5 separate regions of the Homo sapiens genome follow, and regions 1, 2, 3 and 5 are each linked to region 4. The links are contacts of gene promoters, found by promoter capture Hi-C in blood cells and fetal thymus (Javierre and others, 2016). All regions are on one chromosome and are shown on one strand. Each heading gives the region's core, a stretch centred on a gene start or on the middle of the fragment in contact. The rest is flanking DNA. Distances are from core to core; before and after follow the strand shown. Region 1 has its middle 68 kb from the start of CHRM3-AS1. Region 2 overlaps CHRM3 (cholinergic receptor muscarinic 3). Region 3 overlaps LOC105373224 (a long non-coding RNA gene). Region 4 holds the start of CHRM3 (cholinergic receptor muscarinic 3). Region 5 overlaps LOC105373224 (a long non-coding RNA gene).

Region 1 (2,700 bases), core at 156-2,655, 580 kb before region 4:
AATGGTATAGCATGTGTCAGTACCTCATTACTTTTTAAATGCTGAATAATATTTCATTTATAGATATACTACGTTTGTTTATTTGTTCATCGGTAGGTAGATATTTGGATTGATTCTGGGGTTTTTGGCTATCATGAATAATACCTCTTTGAACATCTATGTAAAAGTTTTGACATATACGTTAGCTTTTATTTCTTTTGGGTATTTCTAGGGGTAGAATTGCCAGCATCAGCCCACCCAGATGCATCCCATAAGGATTCCATATTTTATGCCTTTGCCAATCTTGAAGTCACGCTTTCTCGCGCGAAAAGAAAAGGTGACACTTTCTCTCCTCCTTTACACTTTCACACTCTTCCTATAAAATTAAAAGCCAAGTTAAAACTTAAATATGTCTATTTTTTAAGTCATGGCAATCAGCAAGTGATCCCATGGAATTTCAACTTTTTAAGTTAAATGAAAAGGTAATCTTTTTAATTGAAAGCAAAGCCAAATGGTTGCTGAATATCTATCCTGTGGTGGAGTTATTGAGGACATGTCAGTGATAGGTCTCCTCAGGCTGCCCACAGTTCTGTCTGGCAATCAGAGCTGGCCTTCACTATTTCTTTCCCAGCTATCTTATTCTTAATGTCTGAAGGGTTTCCAGAGCTACTTTGATCTATTTTTTGGACATACATTTTTTGGACAAAAAGATTTCACATTTAAGCTTTTTATAAAGAAATTTAATAATATGATTTCCTATCTAGTGAGCAAATAAATAATGTTATGTTGATTTGTACTTATTTGGGCCATTTAAAAATTGTGATAAAAGATAATAACATTAAATTTACCATATTAACTATTTGAAGTATACAACTCAGTGATAGTAAGTCTATTCACATTATTCATTTCCAGAAATTTGTTATTGTACCAAACCAAAACTTTGTGTCCATTAAACAATAACTCCGCAATCCTCCTAACTCTCATCCCATAGGAATCTCTATCAACTCTCTGTTTCTGACGGTGCCTATTCTAGGTTCCTCATACATGTGGAATCGTACAATATTTGTACATTTCTGCCTGGCTGATTACATTTAGCATAATGTTGTCAAAGTTCATCCATATAGTAGATCTCATTTCTTTTAAAGGATGAGTGGTATCCCATTGTATGTGTTGATGTTTACTTGTAGAATAAGTAATTTATATATTTTTTCCATGAACAACTAACTGAAAGGCAAAGCAAACTACTGATAAAAGAGACTAGAACTGGCTACAAATGGAATCCTGGCAACGTTATTTAACTATTCCCTAATTTAACCAATTTTCTAAGTAAAACAATGAAAAGATGAGTAGGAGTTGCTGCTTTTTGGTGTCTCACACGCTAATCATATAGACAATATGTCCACAGAGAGCACAGTAAAACAATTAGAACAAATTCCTAATTGCCTGTTAAGAAATGCTGGAATATTCAACATGAATTCTATCCTATGACCTGGGTGTACATAGAAACTTTGTTTATTCAGGTTTGCCTCTTGTTTAACTCAGCATATTATGATGAATTATTATTGTTATTATATTTTAAAGTAAGATGGAGTCTTGCTCTGTCACCCAGGCTGGAGTGCAGTGGCACGATCTTGGCTCACTGCAACTTCTGCCTCCCAGGTTCAAGCAATTCTCCCACCTCAGCCTCCTGAGTAGCTAGGATTACAGCTGCCCACCACCATGCATGGCTAATTTTTGTATTTTTAGTAGCGACGGGGTTTCGCTATGTTGGCCAGGCTGGTCTTGAACTCCTGACCTCAGGTGATCCGCCTGCCTCGGCCTCCTAAAGTGCTGGGATTATAGGCATGAGCCATCACACCTTGCCCTGATGAATTATTTTAATGGCCCTAGAAAGCCCTGCATTTAGTTAATTTTCCATCTTGCTTTATTGATCTGAATAGAGCATGCAATTTTTGTGTGTGTTGGGCAGTTTGTGTTCTGATGCTCATGGGATGCCACAGAAGTCGAGGACCAAGGATATTTTCTTGTAAAAACCAACATTTGCCCACTTTAGAAAACCAGAGAAACAAAAAAACGGAGATTTACTTTCCTCCAGGGAGATGCTGTTTTGTCTCCTGAAGAAGCTTGGTAAGCCTCAGTGTAGGATGTAGGTGATGGTTTCACATGAGGCATGTTTTAAAAATCCTCTCTGATACTCTTTTTTATGTCTGGTGGCCAATCTCAATCAAAGGAAGGCTTTCCCCTGCTTTGTGATGAGTGACTCTTGGCATGAAGCAAGTTAGGTTCCTCCACTCAGCGATGTGGTTTCAGTCTCAGACTTTCAATGGAAACAAAAAGGAAGGAAGGAAGGAAGAAGGGAAGGAAAGTTTAGATATATAAAGACCAATAATCAGATTGTGAATTTTGACTCACCATATTTATTCATTTAATAAAAAATTATTGAGTACCTACGATGACAATGCAATCAGCAGAGTGGACACTAGAAATACAAAGGTGAACCAGATAAATCTCTGGCCCCATGGAGCCAGACAGTCAGGAGCAGAGCTGGTCAGTGACAGAGCAGTTGTCCTGCTGGGACCTTAGTGCTGTGCTAGGGAAGGTTCCTGGTGCTCTAGGATGAGGTAGGGATAGAAGGTCAGAGAAGACCTAGACATCAACTAACTGCATTACATTATTTCCTTTAAGTGTTCAAGACTTCAGCAATTCACAGGTTCAAATTCA
Region 2 (2,700 bases), core at 73-2,572, 530 kb before region 4:
GAAGATTTAGAGTCATCAGAACAGGAGAAGAGAGTGTAACTTAAGCGTGTAGAAAGGAAGCAGTAAACTTGTCCTTGAACCTATTAAGGGCTAGAGTTGATACTGTCTAAATAAGTTTGTTGCACGTGGTATTGGAGCAAAATATTCTTTCAGAGGAGGTGCTAGAAGTAGGGTTCTTTAGGTTAAAAAAAAATAACTTTGGAGTGTTGTAATCTATACAGTTTCAGTTCTGTTATGAGAAATGCTATTGCAAAACCAAAGCAAACACCTGCTACCTAGAAACTCTATTTTGTGAGTTTGCCCGACCTCAGGTGCTGGGTTGGAGTGGTATTTGAAACCATACTACTCCGGGTTTGCCAACAAATTTCAAAGCTTCCTTGGTTACCTTCCAAATTTCAAGATTTTGTGGTGTTGAAATAGAGTAAGTAAATAACTTTACAGAATATAAAATCTGAAATTTTCAAACATTCACCCAATATACCATTTTACTTTCGTCATGGTAGCTGCTGACCTCAGTTTTGACCGATTTGGCATCAGAAGGCAAATTAGAGAAGCTTCGGTGTTGTTGCTTAGTTTGAGCAATGAGGATAAAACCCAGAAAGTTTAGGTTAAGTGACAAGCATTCCTAAGGACATGTAACTAAGCAGTGACCAAACTGGTCCAGAAACTTCAGGTTCCTCATCCTAAATTCATTGCTTCTTTGACTATACTGCACTATTTTCACTCGTCCTCTGAAGCTGCCAGGGGAAGATTGTGCAATTTCCTGGAATATGTCCCCATCCTTGAATCATCTCTACTCAGATAGGTACAGGACACCCTGACTGATCCCTGGAATCCTTCTCTGTGCCACTCTGGTATTAGACTTCTCCGCTGTGACAGAGCCTTGGCATCCTTCTTTCCTCCCTGAGTCAGAGCTGAAACAGCCAACTGTGCATCAGAGCTCTGTGCTCCAGCTTCTCTCTCGATACATGAAGGGGCTTCCAGCGCTCTGCAGAGCAATGAGCCCTGCACGAGGGCAACGTAGGAAGCCTGACAGAGAAAACTGATATGCCTTCTAGATCTTTAGCCACAGCAGGGTCTAACGCTTAGGCTTCTTGTTTGTTTTCATTCCGTCAGAGTCTACAACTATTGTACACTAAAGGGTAAAGAGAAATGAAAAATATGTAGAGAGTCAAGGCTGGGCTTAAGAGGCAAAGGGTGACTAGGAGAATAGGGAGGACTAGCATAGAGGCCACAGGGAGCTGATGGGCAAAGGAGAGCAGAGCCGAGGGATCTAGGGGACCAGAGAGAGCTCACTTCTCCTAACCATCTGGCAATGCCTGGAGAATGGAGATTGAGTGTGTGTGTGTGTGCTTGTGAGAGAGAGAGAAGGAAGAAGAGGGAGAAAGAGAGAGAGAGAGGCAGAGAGAGAGAGAGAGATTCTCCATGTGTAGTTTATTTTAGGTTTGATCATTTTCTTCTTTCAAGCAAAGTGGCTAATCTTGAAATGTCTGCAAACCTCATGCATATGGCATGAAATAATTCGATTCCCAATTTGGGATGAAGACATTTTGATCTTAGGTAAGTGCTGAATATCTCCTGTAATGACAAGCCCTTTGAGAAATGCACGTGTAACTAAGGTCCAATTATAAATACTCACTACATCTTCAATTATGCTTTTAAATTATTCATATTCAAAAGAACCTATTTTGCTTGTTTTCTTTCTCTGAAAGTGACCCAAGAAATGGACATACCTTTCTATAAAATCAGTAGATAGTATTTAAATGCAGCTTTCATCCATAAGAGGCTTAAAAACAATTCTATAATAAAACCAGTAAAACAAAAAAGGGAGACCTAGAGTCTTGGATTTGTTCCTTTTCTGCTATTATTAGCATCACAAAAGGACAAGGATAAGGAGATAATCATGTTTAAGGAGATTGGAAGTGACTCTCAAAGTTCTGTTAAATTTCAGGGTTTCTCCTTTTCTCAAATTTAATTCTATTTCTTTTTTTTTTTTAATAAAAGAAACAGCCCTTTTGGGAGGGAGGCAAGATAGGAGTTTCCAAAAGGATGGGAAGTGCTGAAGTACTGGGACACTTGAATAAGCTTTCACATATTTATTAGTGCCAGGCCAACTTGAGAAATAAAATATAGATGCAATTGCTTACTAGATGTTTCACAGGTGGATAATATGACATTCTGTAGTTTGCTGTGTACATATTAGAAAATCGTCTGTTTCTTTCTTGTTCTTTGGTTGAATGTGGGCCCAAAAAAATCATTCTTACAATTATGCTGATTGTTTTTTTTTTTCCCTGTGTAAAATGATTTCAGACACAATGGTGGAGCTTTGTTCAGTTCCCATCAGATTTAACTAAAGAGTGGTTTTAAACATTTACGTTGAAGTGACCGTTGACTTTTTATTACCTAGAAAGAGTTAGGTGCTTGGTGATGCCAACAGGATGACATGTTTCTTCTTCTTAGCCACAGGAAAGCTCCAATATACTCTATTCATTGCTCAAGTGGACCTTAAAGAATCACTTTGAAAGGACACCATGGCTGACGACTGAAGAGTCATATTTATCAACATTAAATAAACACTTGGTGTAGTATCCATAAATATTTCTGCATATAAACATAACACGAAATTAAATAGTTCAGATACACAGACACCACTGAGTACACTTCTACTGTTGTCAAAGTCGTCTGTAAACACCACCTCAC
Region 3 (2,700 bases), core at 120-2,619, 560 kb before region 4:
ATTTATTTAGACATTCTGTAAGATGATAAAACGTGTTTTCAATGCTAGCTTGTGGAAATGTTGAGGTGGGGCACTCATTGTCCTAAGCAGTCCTGCACTGCCCTCTGGTGGCCTTTCATTTATGTCTTATCATTGACTTCCAAGGACCTTCTGCCTTTCACAAGGCAGATATTGACATTTTTGCATTTGACTTTGTTTCACTTAGATAACATATTAAATTTGGAGTTTAAAAATGTTTTATATTCTTTAGAAATAAAAATAAAAGTAGAAATGGCTTCAATAAATTAAACTCTAGCTTCGTAATACACTGTTACATATAATCGTATGTAACATGTATTCATACACATGAGCGGTGTGAATCATAATACACCGTTACATATAATTATTCTAGCCTTCCAGAATTCCTCATTATGACTCCATAATACGTTTTGCAATATGAATGGTTTATTTATATTTTATGTTGATCAGTATAAAGTGCTCAAATTCCCAGGTGTGTTAGTATTTAAATTTCTTTAAGGGTTTTTGAAGTATAATCAATTTCACAAAGAACCAATCAATTTAAAATGTACAATTCCATGAGTCTTGAAATATATTCCACAAAACCATCACTGCCATTAAAGAAGTGTACATGTATCCATTACCTCTAAAAGATTGTTCTGATTTCTGTTTAAAAATCCATTGTTAGCTTGATGTACAGATAACTTCCGTTTGTCCCCTCAGATTCACTCTTCACTTAGGGTGGAGGTCATCTGTGCAATGAAGGAACTGCTTGATCTTGCTTCACTGTACAGTTGGGAACCCGTAAGAAAAGACAGATCTAAAGATAGATGTTAAAATAGCCAGGATAGAGTGTTGCCAGGACTGCCCTGGAGGAGACGACTATACGCTGAAAGCTTATGGGACCTTGCAGGTCCATGCTGGCAAAAGCCTGGGCAGCAGGAGTGGGAGTCGGTCCAAGGCGGTGGACCAAGGAGCAAAATAAAGGTCTTGATTGGACTGAATTCATTGACATGAGAGTGCTCTCTATGGATTTGGGTTCCAAGTGTTGGGTTGACCACCTGCTAGTGGTGTTGATATTCTGGCCTTATCATGGCCTCCAGATAATGAGGTCAGAATGCTAAAATGTCCTTGCCACACTGCCGAGGGAGGGAGGAAGGAGTTGGAATGCATAAGGACAGGCATGGTGGGATGGAGCTATGATGTGCAGTCTGCTCAGCCATCCCTAATCTTGCCTGCTGGGAGAAGCAGAGCTCACACTTTTCATCACAGCATTGGCAAGGGAGGCGCCAGCGTCTTTGAAGAGCCCTGTGCATGGCTGTCCTTTACACAGTATGCCACACAGTATGCCACGGGGGCAGGATGGGAATTAGAGAGTGTGACCCACAAGGATACGTGGTGTGGGGTAATTGATCAGGTGTCCTTACAAATGAAACTGATGGATGGCCTACCAAGAAAACAATTCTAGATATGATTGTTGCTACAGTGAGGATTCACTGTCTCTAAACTAGTTATGAAACATAAGCCAGCAATGGCCCGACTCTGAGCTCCTATGCTGAGGAAGAGATTGGAGCCCTTCAAGGAATGGCCCTGCAATGGAGTCTCAGATATGTGCCATGTATCTTTTCCATCAGCTTCCCCAAATGGCCCCAAAGTCAAAGGCAATTACTGCTGTGACCACACTCTGGAAGAAGGGAAACATCTACATGCGTTTTCTGGAGAATTTTGTCTATATGTTCTGAGCATATTTTGAATCCCCAACATCAGAAATGCTGTGTGGCCCATCAGTTGAAGCAGGGGCTTTGGAGGTCTGGGGACAGGAGCTGCCTTGGCCGCAGGTTAAGCTTGTCCAGTGGAACCATGGCCTCCTCCTGTGGTTACTCTCCAGTTCCAGAATGGATAATGGGAATAGGTAGATTTAGCAACTGGTAGAATCTCCACATTTTTTTTTCTGATCCCAAAAATTTTGCTTATTAAGAAAGGAAGGCCCAAGTAGAGGTCCCTAGAACTACACCTTCCTGAGAGGAAACTGAACGCAGCACATCATCCATGGAGGAGACCGAGGGGTGAGCAGTGTCATCAACCCCTTGAGAAATGCAAGTTGGTAATGCCCACTGTTCCTTATTTTCCTTGCCTCTCTGGCTACTGGAAAAGCCAAGTGGTGACTGGGCATGGTGCCTCATGCCTGTAATCACGGCACTTTGGGAGGCTGAGGCAGGCGGATCTCGAGGTCAAGAGTTCAAGAACACCCTGGCCAACATGGTGAAACCCCATCTCTACTAAAAATACAAAAATTAGCCAGGCATGGTGGCGGGCACCTGTAATCCCAGCTACTCGGGAGGTTGAGGCAGGAGAATCGCTTGAATCTGGGAGGCAGAGGTTGCAGTGAGCCGAGGTCGCGCCACTGCACTCCAGCCTGGGCAAGAAAGCAAGACTCCATCTCGGAAAAAAAAAAGCCAAGTGGGTCATGGAGATGGACAGTGAATTTCCACAGACGTAATCAGATGGAGACGGGAACGGGAGCTGTGACTGTTTGTAGGATACCTCGACAGGAGCGATACTTCAGTTACAGTGTCTCGCAGAGGAGCAGGCCCGGGCAGGCTGCTGTTGGGGGAGGGACTGAGAATGGCATGAGACTCCCTGCCTGTTTAAAGGGCAAATTCCTTTAAAGGAAAACAAAAACCAAAAAAGACTATACTACAT
Region 4 (2,700 bases), core at 34-2,533:
AGATGCGCACTAGGCTAGGTACCTTCGCCCAAGTGTTACTCGAAGTGCCAAATTTGCCTTCTCGCCCCCTGAAATGCAATCCGAACTTGCGGCCCCACTGCGAGGTTGGCGGGTGCCAGCTTTAGCCTTCTTAGAAATGACAGGAAACCAAATGGGGAGATGGGAGACAAACGCTCAACACACGAGTGCGCTCACAAACACACCCGGAGCCCAGTAGCTCCTCATGCTCGGGCACTTTGGAGCCTCAGATCCGGCAGTGGCGAAGAGAGAATCGAAGCGAGGGAGAGCGGGGTGGGACGTCCCCGACTCTCTCCCGGCCACCGCTCGCATGATTCCCGTCCCTTTCGGGGCACTTGAGTGCCAGCGGGCGTTCCCCACCCTCAGTCCCAGAACTCCAACTCCGCACCAGATCGCGCTGTCGGAATTCAAGTGCCCCCATCTTCCCCAAATCAACAGCCTCTCTCGTCCCTACCCAGCCCCTTCTTTGGACTCCAAACACAAGACCTCTCCTACCCGCGCCGAAAACTTTTTCCTCCTTTCGCAACGAGATAAGGCAAGAAACCAGGTCAGCCGCTACCGCCACCCGCTCTGCCCAGCGCCTGGGTGGCGGGCGCCGTCCCTACCTGGCAGCTGCGCTCCAGGTGGCTGTCCCACGCCGGTCTCCGCGCCTGCCCGGTGCGCGGGTGGCGTCCGCTCCACCTTCCCTTCGTCTCCTCCGGCTCCGCGTTCAGGGAGCGACTGTCCTTAAGATCGTGCCCCCCTGCCCGGAGCCGCCCTTCAGTTCATCGCCCGTCTTCCCAGAAGCGCTGCTGCGGCCCCGGCGGACTGATGAGGAGCCTGGAGATCCGCGATGGCACCGATGGCCCCGCGGTGTGCGCTCCGGGGTCTGAGAGCGCTCCGCCCGCGGGCAGCTGCGGCCGCGCGTCACATGCCGCCTCCGGGCAGCGGCCGCGGCACCTGCCCAAGCGGCAGCGCTCCCGGCTCGGCAGTGCCGCCCCCGCGCCCTGTGCTCCCCTGCACGCTCCGGCCCTTTCTGTTCACGCCCTTTTCCCTCTGTCTCCCGCCTCACTTTTTCTCTTCTTTCCGTCTCCTTCTTTATCGTGTATTCCCTTTCTCCAAAAGCAGAGAGAAGGCGCTCCAAGGGGGAGGAGAGGTCTTTTCCTCCCCACGAACTCTTCCTCTGCCTGGTGGTGGCGGTCGTGGCTACTGCTGGCCGCTCCTCCTCTCCTTCCTCCTCGCGTTCCTCCTGCTCCTCCTCCTCCCCGGACTGAGAGAGCTGGTGTAATGCACAGGCTGCGTGCTTGAGACCAAAACCTGCCCGGCTTCTGAGCATGCCCAGTTGCCCTGCCGGCGCCTAGCTCCATTCCCGCGTGCCCGCTGGGCTCCGCGTTCTCCGCCTGGCAGGGGGCGAGGAGATCCCAGGGTACTCCTGGGGTGGGTTGGCTGAAAGCGGAACACCAAGCAGGAGAGAGGGGGGCCTCACCCACCCAGCATGGCCTCACCTGTTCCCAAATTGTGCCTCCCGCGGCGCTTCAAAGATAGATTTTGCCGGTCTGTTAGTTTTGTTGTGTTCGCTTTTAAATTGGTTTCCCTGGACTGCTTAGAAGGACTGGAAGGAATTCGATTCCTTGGGCACAACTTATCGATGAGTGAACTTCAGCTCAGTTACAATATACGACTCCATGGCAAACCTTTCTCTAAGGAACAGTCTGATGCATCTACTTTTTGACATTTAGTGAGTCTGTTTCTGCAGAGCAGTGTAATAGAGGACGACTTGACTTTTCCCTCCCTGGACAGTTACACCTTGGGAGAAAATAAGACAAGCATCCATGAAGAAGACACTGACGTGCACGCGCGCGCGCGCGCGCGTACACACACACACACACACACACACACACACACACACACACACACTTTTTTAAATCAGAAAATAAAATGAAAGATATAACATTGCTAGCCAGTCTTTTAAAGCTCAAGAGGAATGAAAATCTAAGAAAGAAAGAAAGAAAGAAAGAAAGAAAGAAAGAAAGAAAGAGAGAGAGACAGAAAAGGTTATTATGTACTACTGCCAGCTAACTATGTAAGGAAAAAGTGGAGAGATACCAAATTTGAAAAGATACCAATGAGGCTGTCCCACGGCACTCTCGAGGTTTTGTTTAAAAAGCACATAAGGAAAGATAACAGAGGAATCTCACAAGAAAGGACAAGCATAACAATGATAACTGAAAAAGAAGAAAAGAAAGAAAAAGGAAGGAAGGAGGAAGATAAAAAGAAGAAAAAAGCAAGAAATTGAAGCATAGTATGAAATGAAATATTTAACAATATTAAAGGCAGCAAATGATTTTAATTCTATTTGGAACAAGAAGATAAATAGGAAAAGATAGAGCTCTTTGAAAAATTAAGTAATTCTAAGAGATTAGAGAAACACCAGTATATGAATTCCTTTCTGAACCTATATTCTTCTCTAGGTAGAACAATCTTTAGGAGAGAAGAGACTAAACTTTGCGTAGAAAAGATTGAGATCATGCTGGGAAAATAGCTAGTGAGAAAGCATGTGGCTACTTAAATTAATTAAAATATCTAGGCTTAGGTAAATTGCATCCAGGATACTAGAATAGTAATAATAATAACAATATTGTAGCCTTTTTATTGGGATACCTCTCAGAAGAAAATATAACAGTTACTTTCAGATACTTCTTT
Region 5 (2,700 bases), core at 126-2,625, 540 kb before region 4:
CTTAATTTTTAAAATTTAAAACTTTATTTTGGAAGGCCTTTTGTTTGTCTTTGTCTTGTTATGTACGTTTATATTTGTGAAAAATATCCCTAAAGGAATTGCTAGTGAAAGCTCAGCAGGCCTCACTTAGGGTGGCCGTCCACTTTTCCACCTTGCCCAGAGACCACCTGCTGAACTCCTGGGCACAGGTCATTCCTTTCCACTTTGATCCCTGGATCAAAGGTGCCGGGGCCCGCAGAGGCAAGGTTGAATCTTTCCACGTCAGATCTGGGCACTGAGCAGAGTGACTAGCATCTGTGTTTTTGTCGTGTGAGTCCTCTCAGCCAGAATGGGAAATGTTGGTTAGGTTCCTCCAGGCAGCCCCATTAGGCTGCATCTTGAGAATTGGGAAAACAAGAGGTGTCCTCTTTAGATCAGTACAATGAGTAATTTATCCACTAAGGGCAGAAAAACTGCAAAAACTCTGGGAAAGTTAAAAGGCACGCCATGTTTTCTAGGACTCCAGCTGGTTACATACATGGCCTGCTATTGTGCACATTTTAAACTGATGGGCAAATGACAGTGAGGAAAATCCAGAACTCAAAAGGTTGATTTGCAGCTATAGGATTAAAAACTCTTTGTGAATCTTTCTCTTTATTTTCTTTTCTGCCTACTTCTAATCTGCTATTATTAAGCTACTGGTTTTGAGATAAAACTCTCTGTTCGTGGTACTACTAACTCAAAGTTACTTGGGGATTTTGTTTTTCTTATACAGTTCTGCCAGTACTAGCTGAAATGTAAACATTAAAACTCATTTAAAACTGGGAGTGGAGGGGAAAGGATAAAAATGTTTTTTTCCCGTAAAAACTTCTTTGGTTCACAGCCTTCATTGGACTACCTACCAAGGCACACAAAGTTTAGCCATGTGGACAGGCTCCCAATTTTGTCCAAAATAATTCAGATTCAGCCATCTTTTATAAACTGGTGAGTTTGTATTACCATCTCATGGCTAGAATTCCGAAGTAAAAGCTGTAAAATCCTTGTTTATATGTGTGTGTGTTTAGATAAATTTACTTATATAAACATATATTGTGTTATATATTAAGTCTACACGATACCAACTTGGCTTATAAATAATAAAACACTCATAAATTAAGTACATAACTCCAAATATCTTTCAAGTTAATGTGATTTAAATAAATCTTTAATTTAAAAACTGGCTTTAAAATTATAAATAAAATTAAAATTAAATATCTTCAAAATTATCAGCATACATTTGTGTCTGGGTTTATTGGCTAAATGGTTTTATATTTGTCTTTGCTAAATGTATTATGGTGTCAGGGTTTGGCATGAAGCATACAAAGCTATAAACCCAGCCAAAAACAAAATAATCTTTATTTGTATATATTTTTGATAAATAGGGCCAATTTGATGTTGTTGGTTTAATGAAAACAGCTAAACCTTCTGAGTTATTGGCAAAAGTATCCATATGTTTACTCTAAGTTTCTACTTAGGTAAACACCTGATATTCAGAGGCTATAAAAATGGTTAACAGAGGAATAATTTTAAATGATGACTATCTTTGTCTAATATCTCAGTTTTCATAAGTAATCTAGTTAAACTGTTAAAAAAAATAAATTAATATAAATGAGACAAATGCTTATGGGTAAACTTTTGTATAATTGAAATCTTAAAATTATCTTAAATAACCATTATTTCCAACTAAGAAAGGGTTATGATATTAAAAAAAAATGTTTCTAAAAATTGTGGAGTGGTTCTCATCCATAAAGTATGAATGTCTGGCAGACAATTCAAAATTTCTTGCTTCCTTGGTTTTCACTAAAATTTAAGGTTACTAAGAATAAAGATTCTAGTTAATATGTAATTCTGTATATAAAGTGTACCAAAAATATGTTCTTATTAAAAAAAGAATAATTTTGTCTAATTCAGAAATTATCTAAAGGTTGATTTAAATTATAGACCTGGAAAGTTATTCACAAAACAAGGTTAAAGAAAACCCAGGAAGTAGGAGAGAGAAATATTTTAAAGGTTATGACTATAAAAATAGTTTTAATAAATGAAAAAATTTAGTATGGTAAATTTTTGTCCTAAAATAAAATTATTAGTTATTTAAAAAAGAACTTGGTTTAGGACAAAGCAAAAATTTAAGAATGTCATTGATGGTCTATGAAAGTAATAATAAGGTTCATAAAAGACAATTTATTAGAAAAAAGTTTATGTCTGGGTGCAGTGGCTCATGCCCGCAATCCCAGCACTTTGGGAGGCCAAGGCAGGTGGATGGCTTGAGCTCAGGAGTTCCAGACCAGCCTGGGCAACACGGCAAAAACCCATCTCTACAAAAAGTGGAAAAATTAGTCAGGTTTGCTGGTGCACGTGCCTACAGTCCCAGCTACTCAGGAAACTGAGGTGGGAAGATCACTTGAGCCTGGGAGGTCAAGGCTGCAGTGGGCCTTGTTCAGGCCACTGCATTCCATCCTGGGCAACAAAGTCAGACCCTGTCTTAGTTAGTTACAATTTTATAAAATAATTTATAATAATTTTTCTAAAATTTAGCTCCCTATATTTAAATAAGATTTTCTTAAGATATTAATTCGCTCTTAAATTATAAGAGGTTCTCATTTTTAATTTTATAACCTTTTTTTTTTAAAAAGTCCCTCAAATTTATATCTCAGAAGTTCCACTTCTGCTGTGCCTTGGTGC

What was found. The method cuts DNA at HindIII sites, captures the fragments that hold promoters and counts their contacts. A CHiCAGO score of 5 or more calls a contact.
Region 1: a fragment that was not itself captured here is called in contact with the fragment with the promoter of CHRM3 in region 4 in 2 of 17 cell types (activated CD4 T cells and non-activated CD4 T cells); the score reaches 6.9 in activated CD4 T cells.
Region 2: a fragment that was not itself captured here is called in contact with the fragment with the promoter of CHRM3 in region 4 in 13 of 17 cell types (activated CD4 T cells, naive CD4 T cells, total CD8 T cells and 10 more); the score reaches 21.8 in activated CD4 T cells.
Region 3: a contact is called between a fragment that was not itself captured here and the fragment with the promoter of CHRM3 in region 4, in 3 of 17 cell types (total CD4 T cells, non-activated CD4 T cells and naive CD8 T cells). The highest score is 5.4, in total CD4 T cells.
Region 5: a fragment that was not itself captured here is called in contact with the fragment with the promoter of CHRM3 in region 4 in 5 of 17 cell types (total CD4 T cells, naive CD4 T cells, non-activated CD4 T cells and 2 more); the score reaches 9.5 in total CD4 T cells.

Annotation. Positions count from the first base shown.
Region 1 is chr1:239,966,236-239,968,935 of GRCh38, reverse strand. No RefSeq gene overlaps it. Among named protein-coding and RNA genes, the nearest start is that of CHRM3-AS1, 68 kb to the right of the region's middle. The HindIII fragment of the contact is 1,399 bases long and covers 706-2,104 here.
Region 2 is chr1:239,910,844-239,913,543 of GRCh38, reverse strand. CHRM3 (cholinergic receptor muscarinic 3) reads right to left here. Exons shown (of 7, transcript NM_001375978.1): 7 at 1-2,700. Among named protein-coding and RNA genes, the nearest start is that of CHRM3-AS1, 12 kb to the right of the region's middle. The HindIII fragment of the contact is 1,531 bases long and covers 557-2,087 here.
Region 3 is chr1:239,949,118-239,951,817 of GRCh38, reverse strand. The region is part of intron 1 of LOC105373224 (a long non-coding RNA gene); the gene reads left to right. Among named protein-coding and RNA genes, the nearest start is that of CHRM3-AS1, 51 kb to the right of the region's middle. The HindIII fragment of the contact is 948 bases long and covers 896-1,843 here.
Region 4 is chr1:239,385,151-239,387,850 of GRCh38, reverse strand. CHRM3 (cholinergic receptor muscarinic 3) reads right to left here and starts at 1,283. Exons shown (of 7, transcript NM_001375978.1): 1 at 624-1,283. RefSeq lists enhancers at 1-60, 61-561. The HindIII fragment of the contact is 9,736 bases long and covers 1-2,700 here.
Region 5 is chr1:239,927,104-239,929,803 of GRCh38, reverse strand. All of the region lies in intron 1 of LOC105373224 (a long non-coding RNA gene), which reads left to right. Among named protein-coding and RNA genes, the nearest start is that of CHRM3-AS1, 29 kb to the right of the region's middle. The HindIII fragment of the contact is 5,383 bases long and covers 1-2,700 here.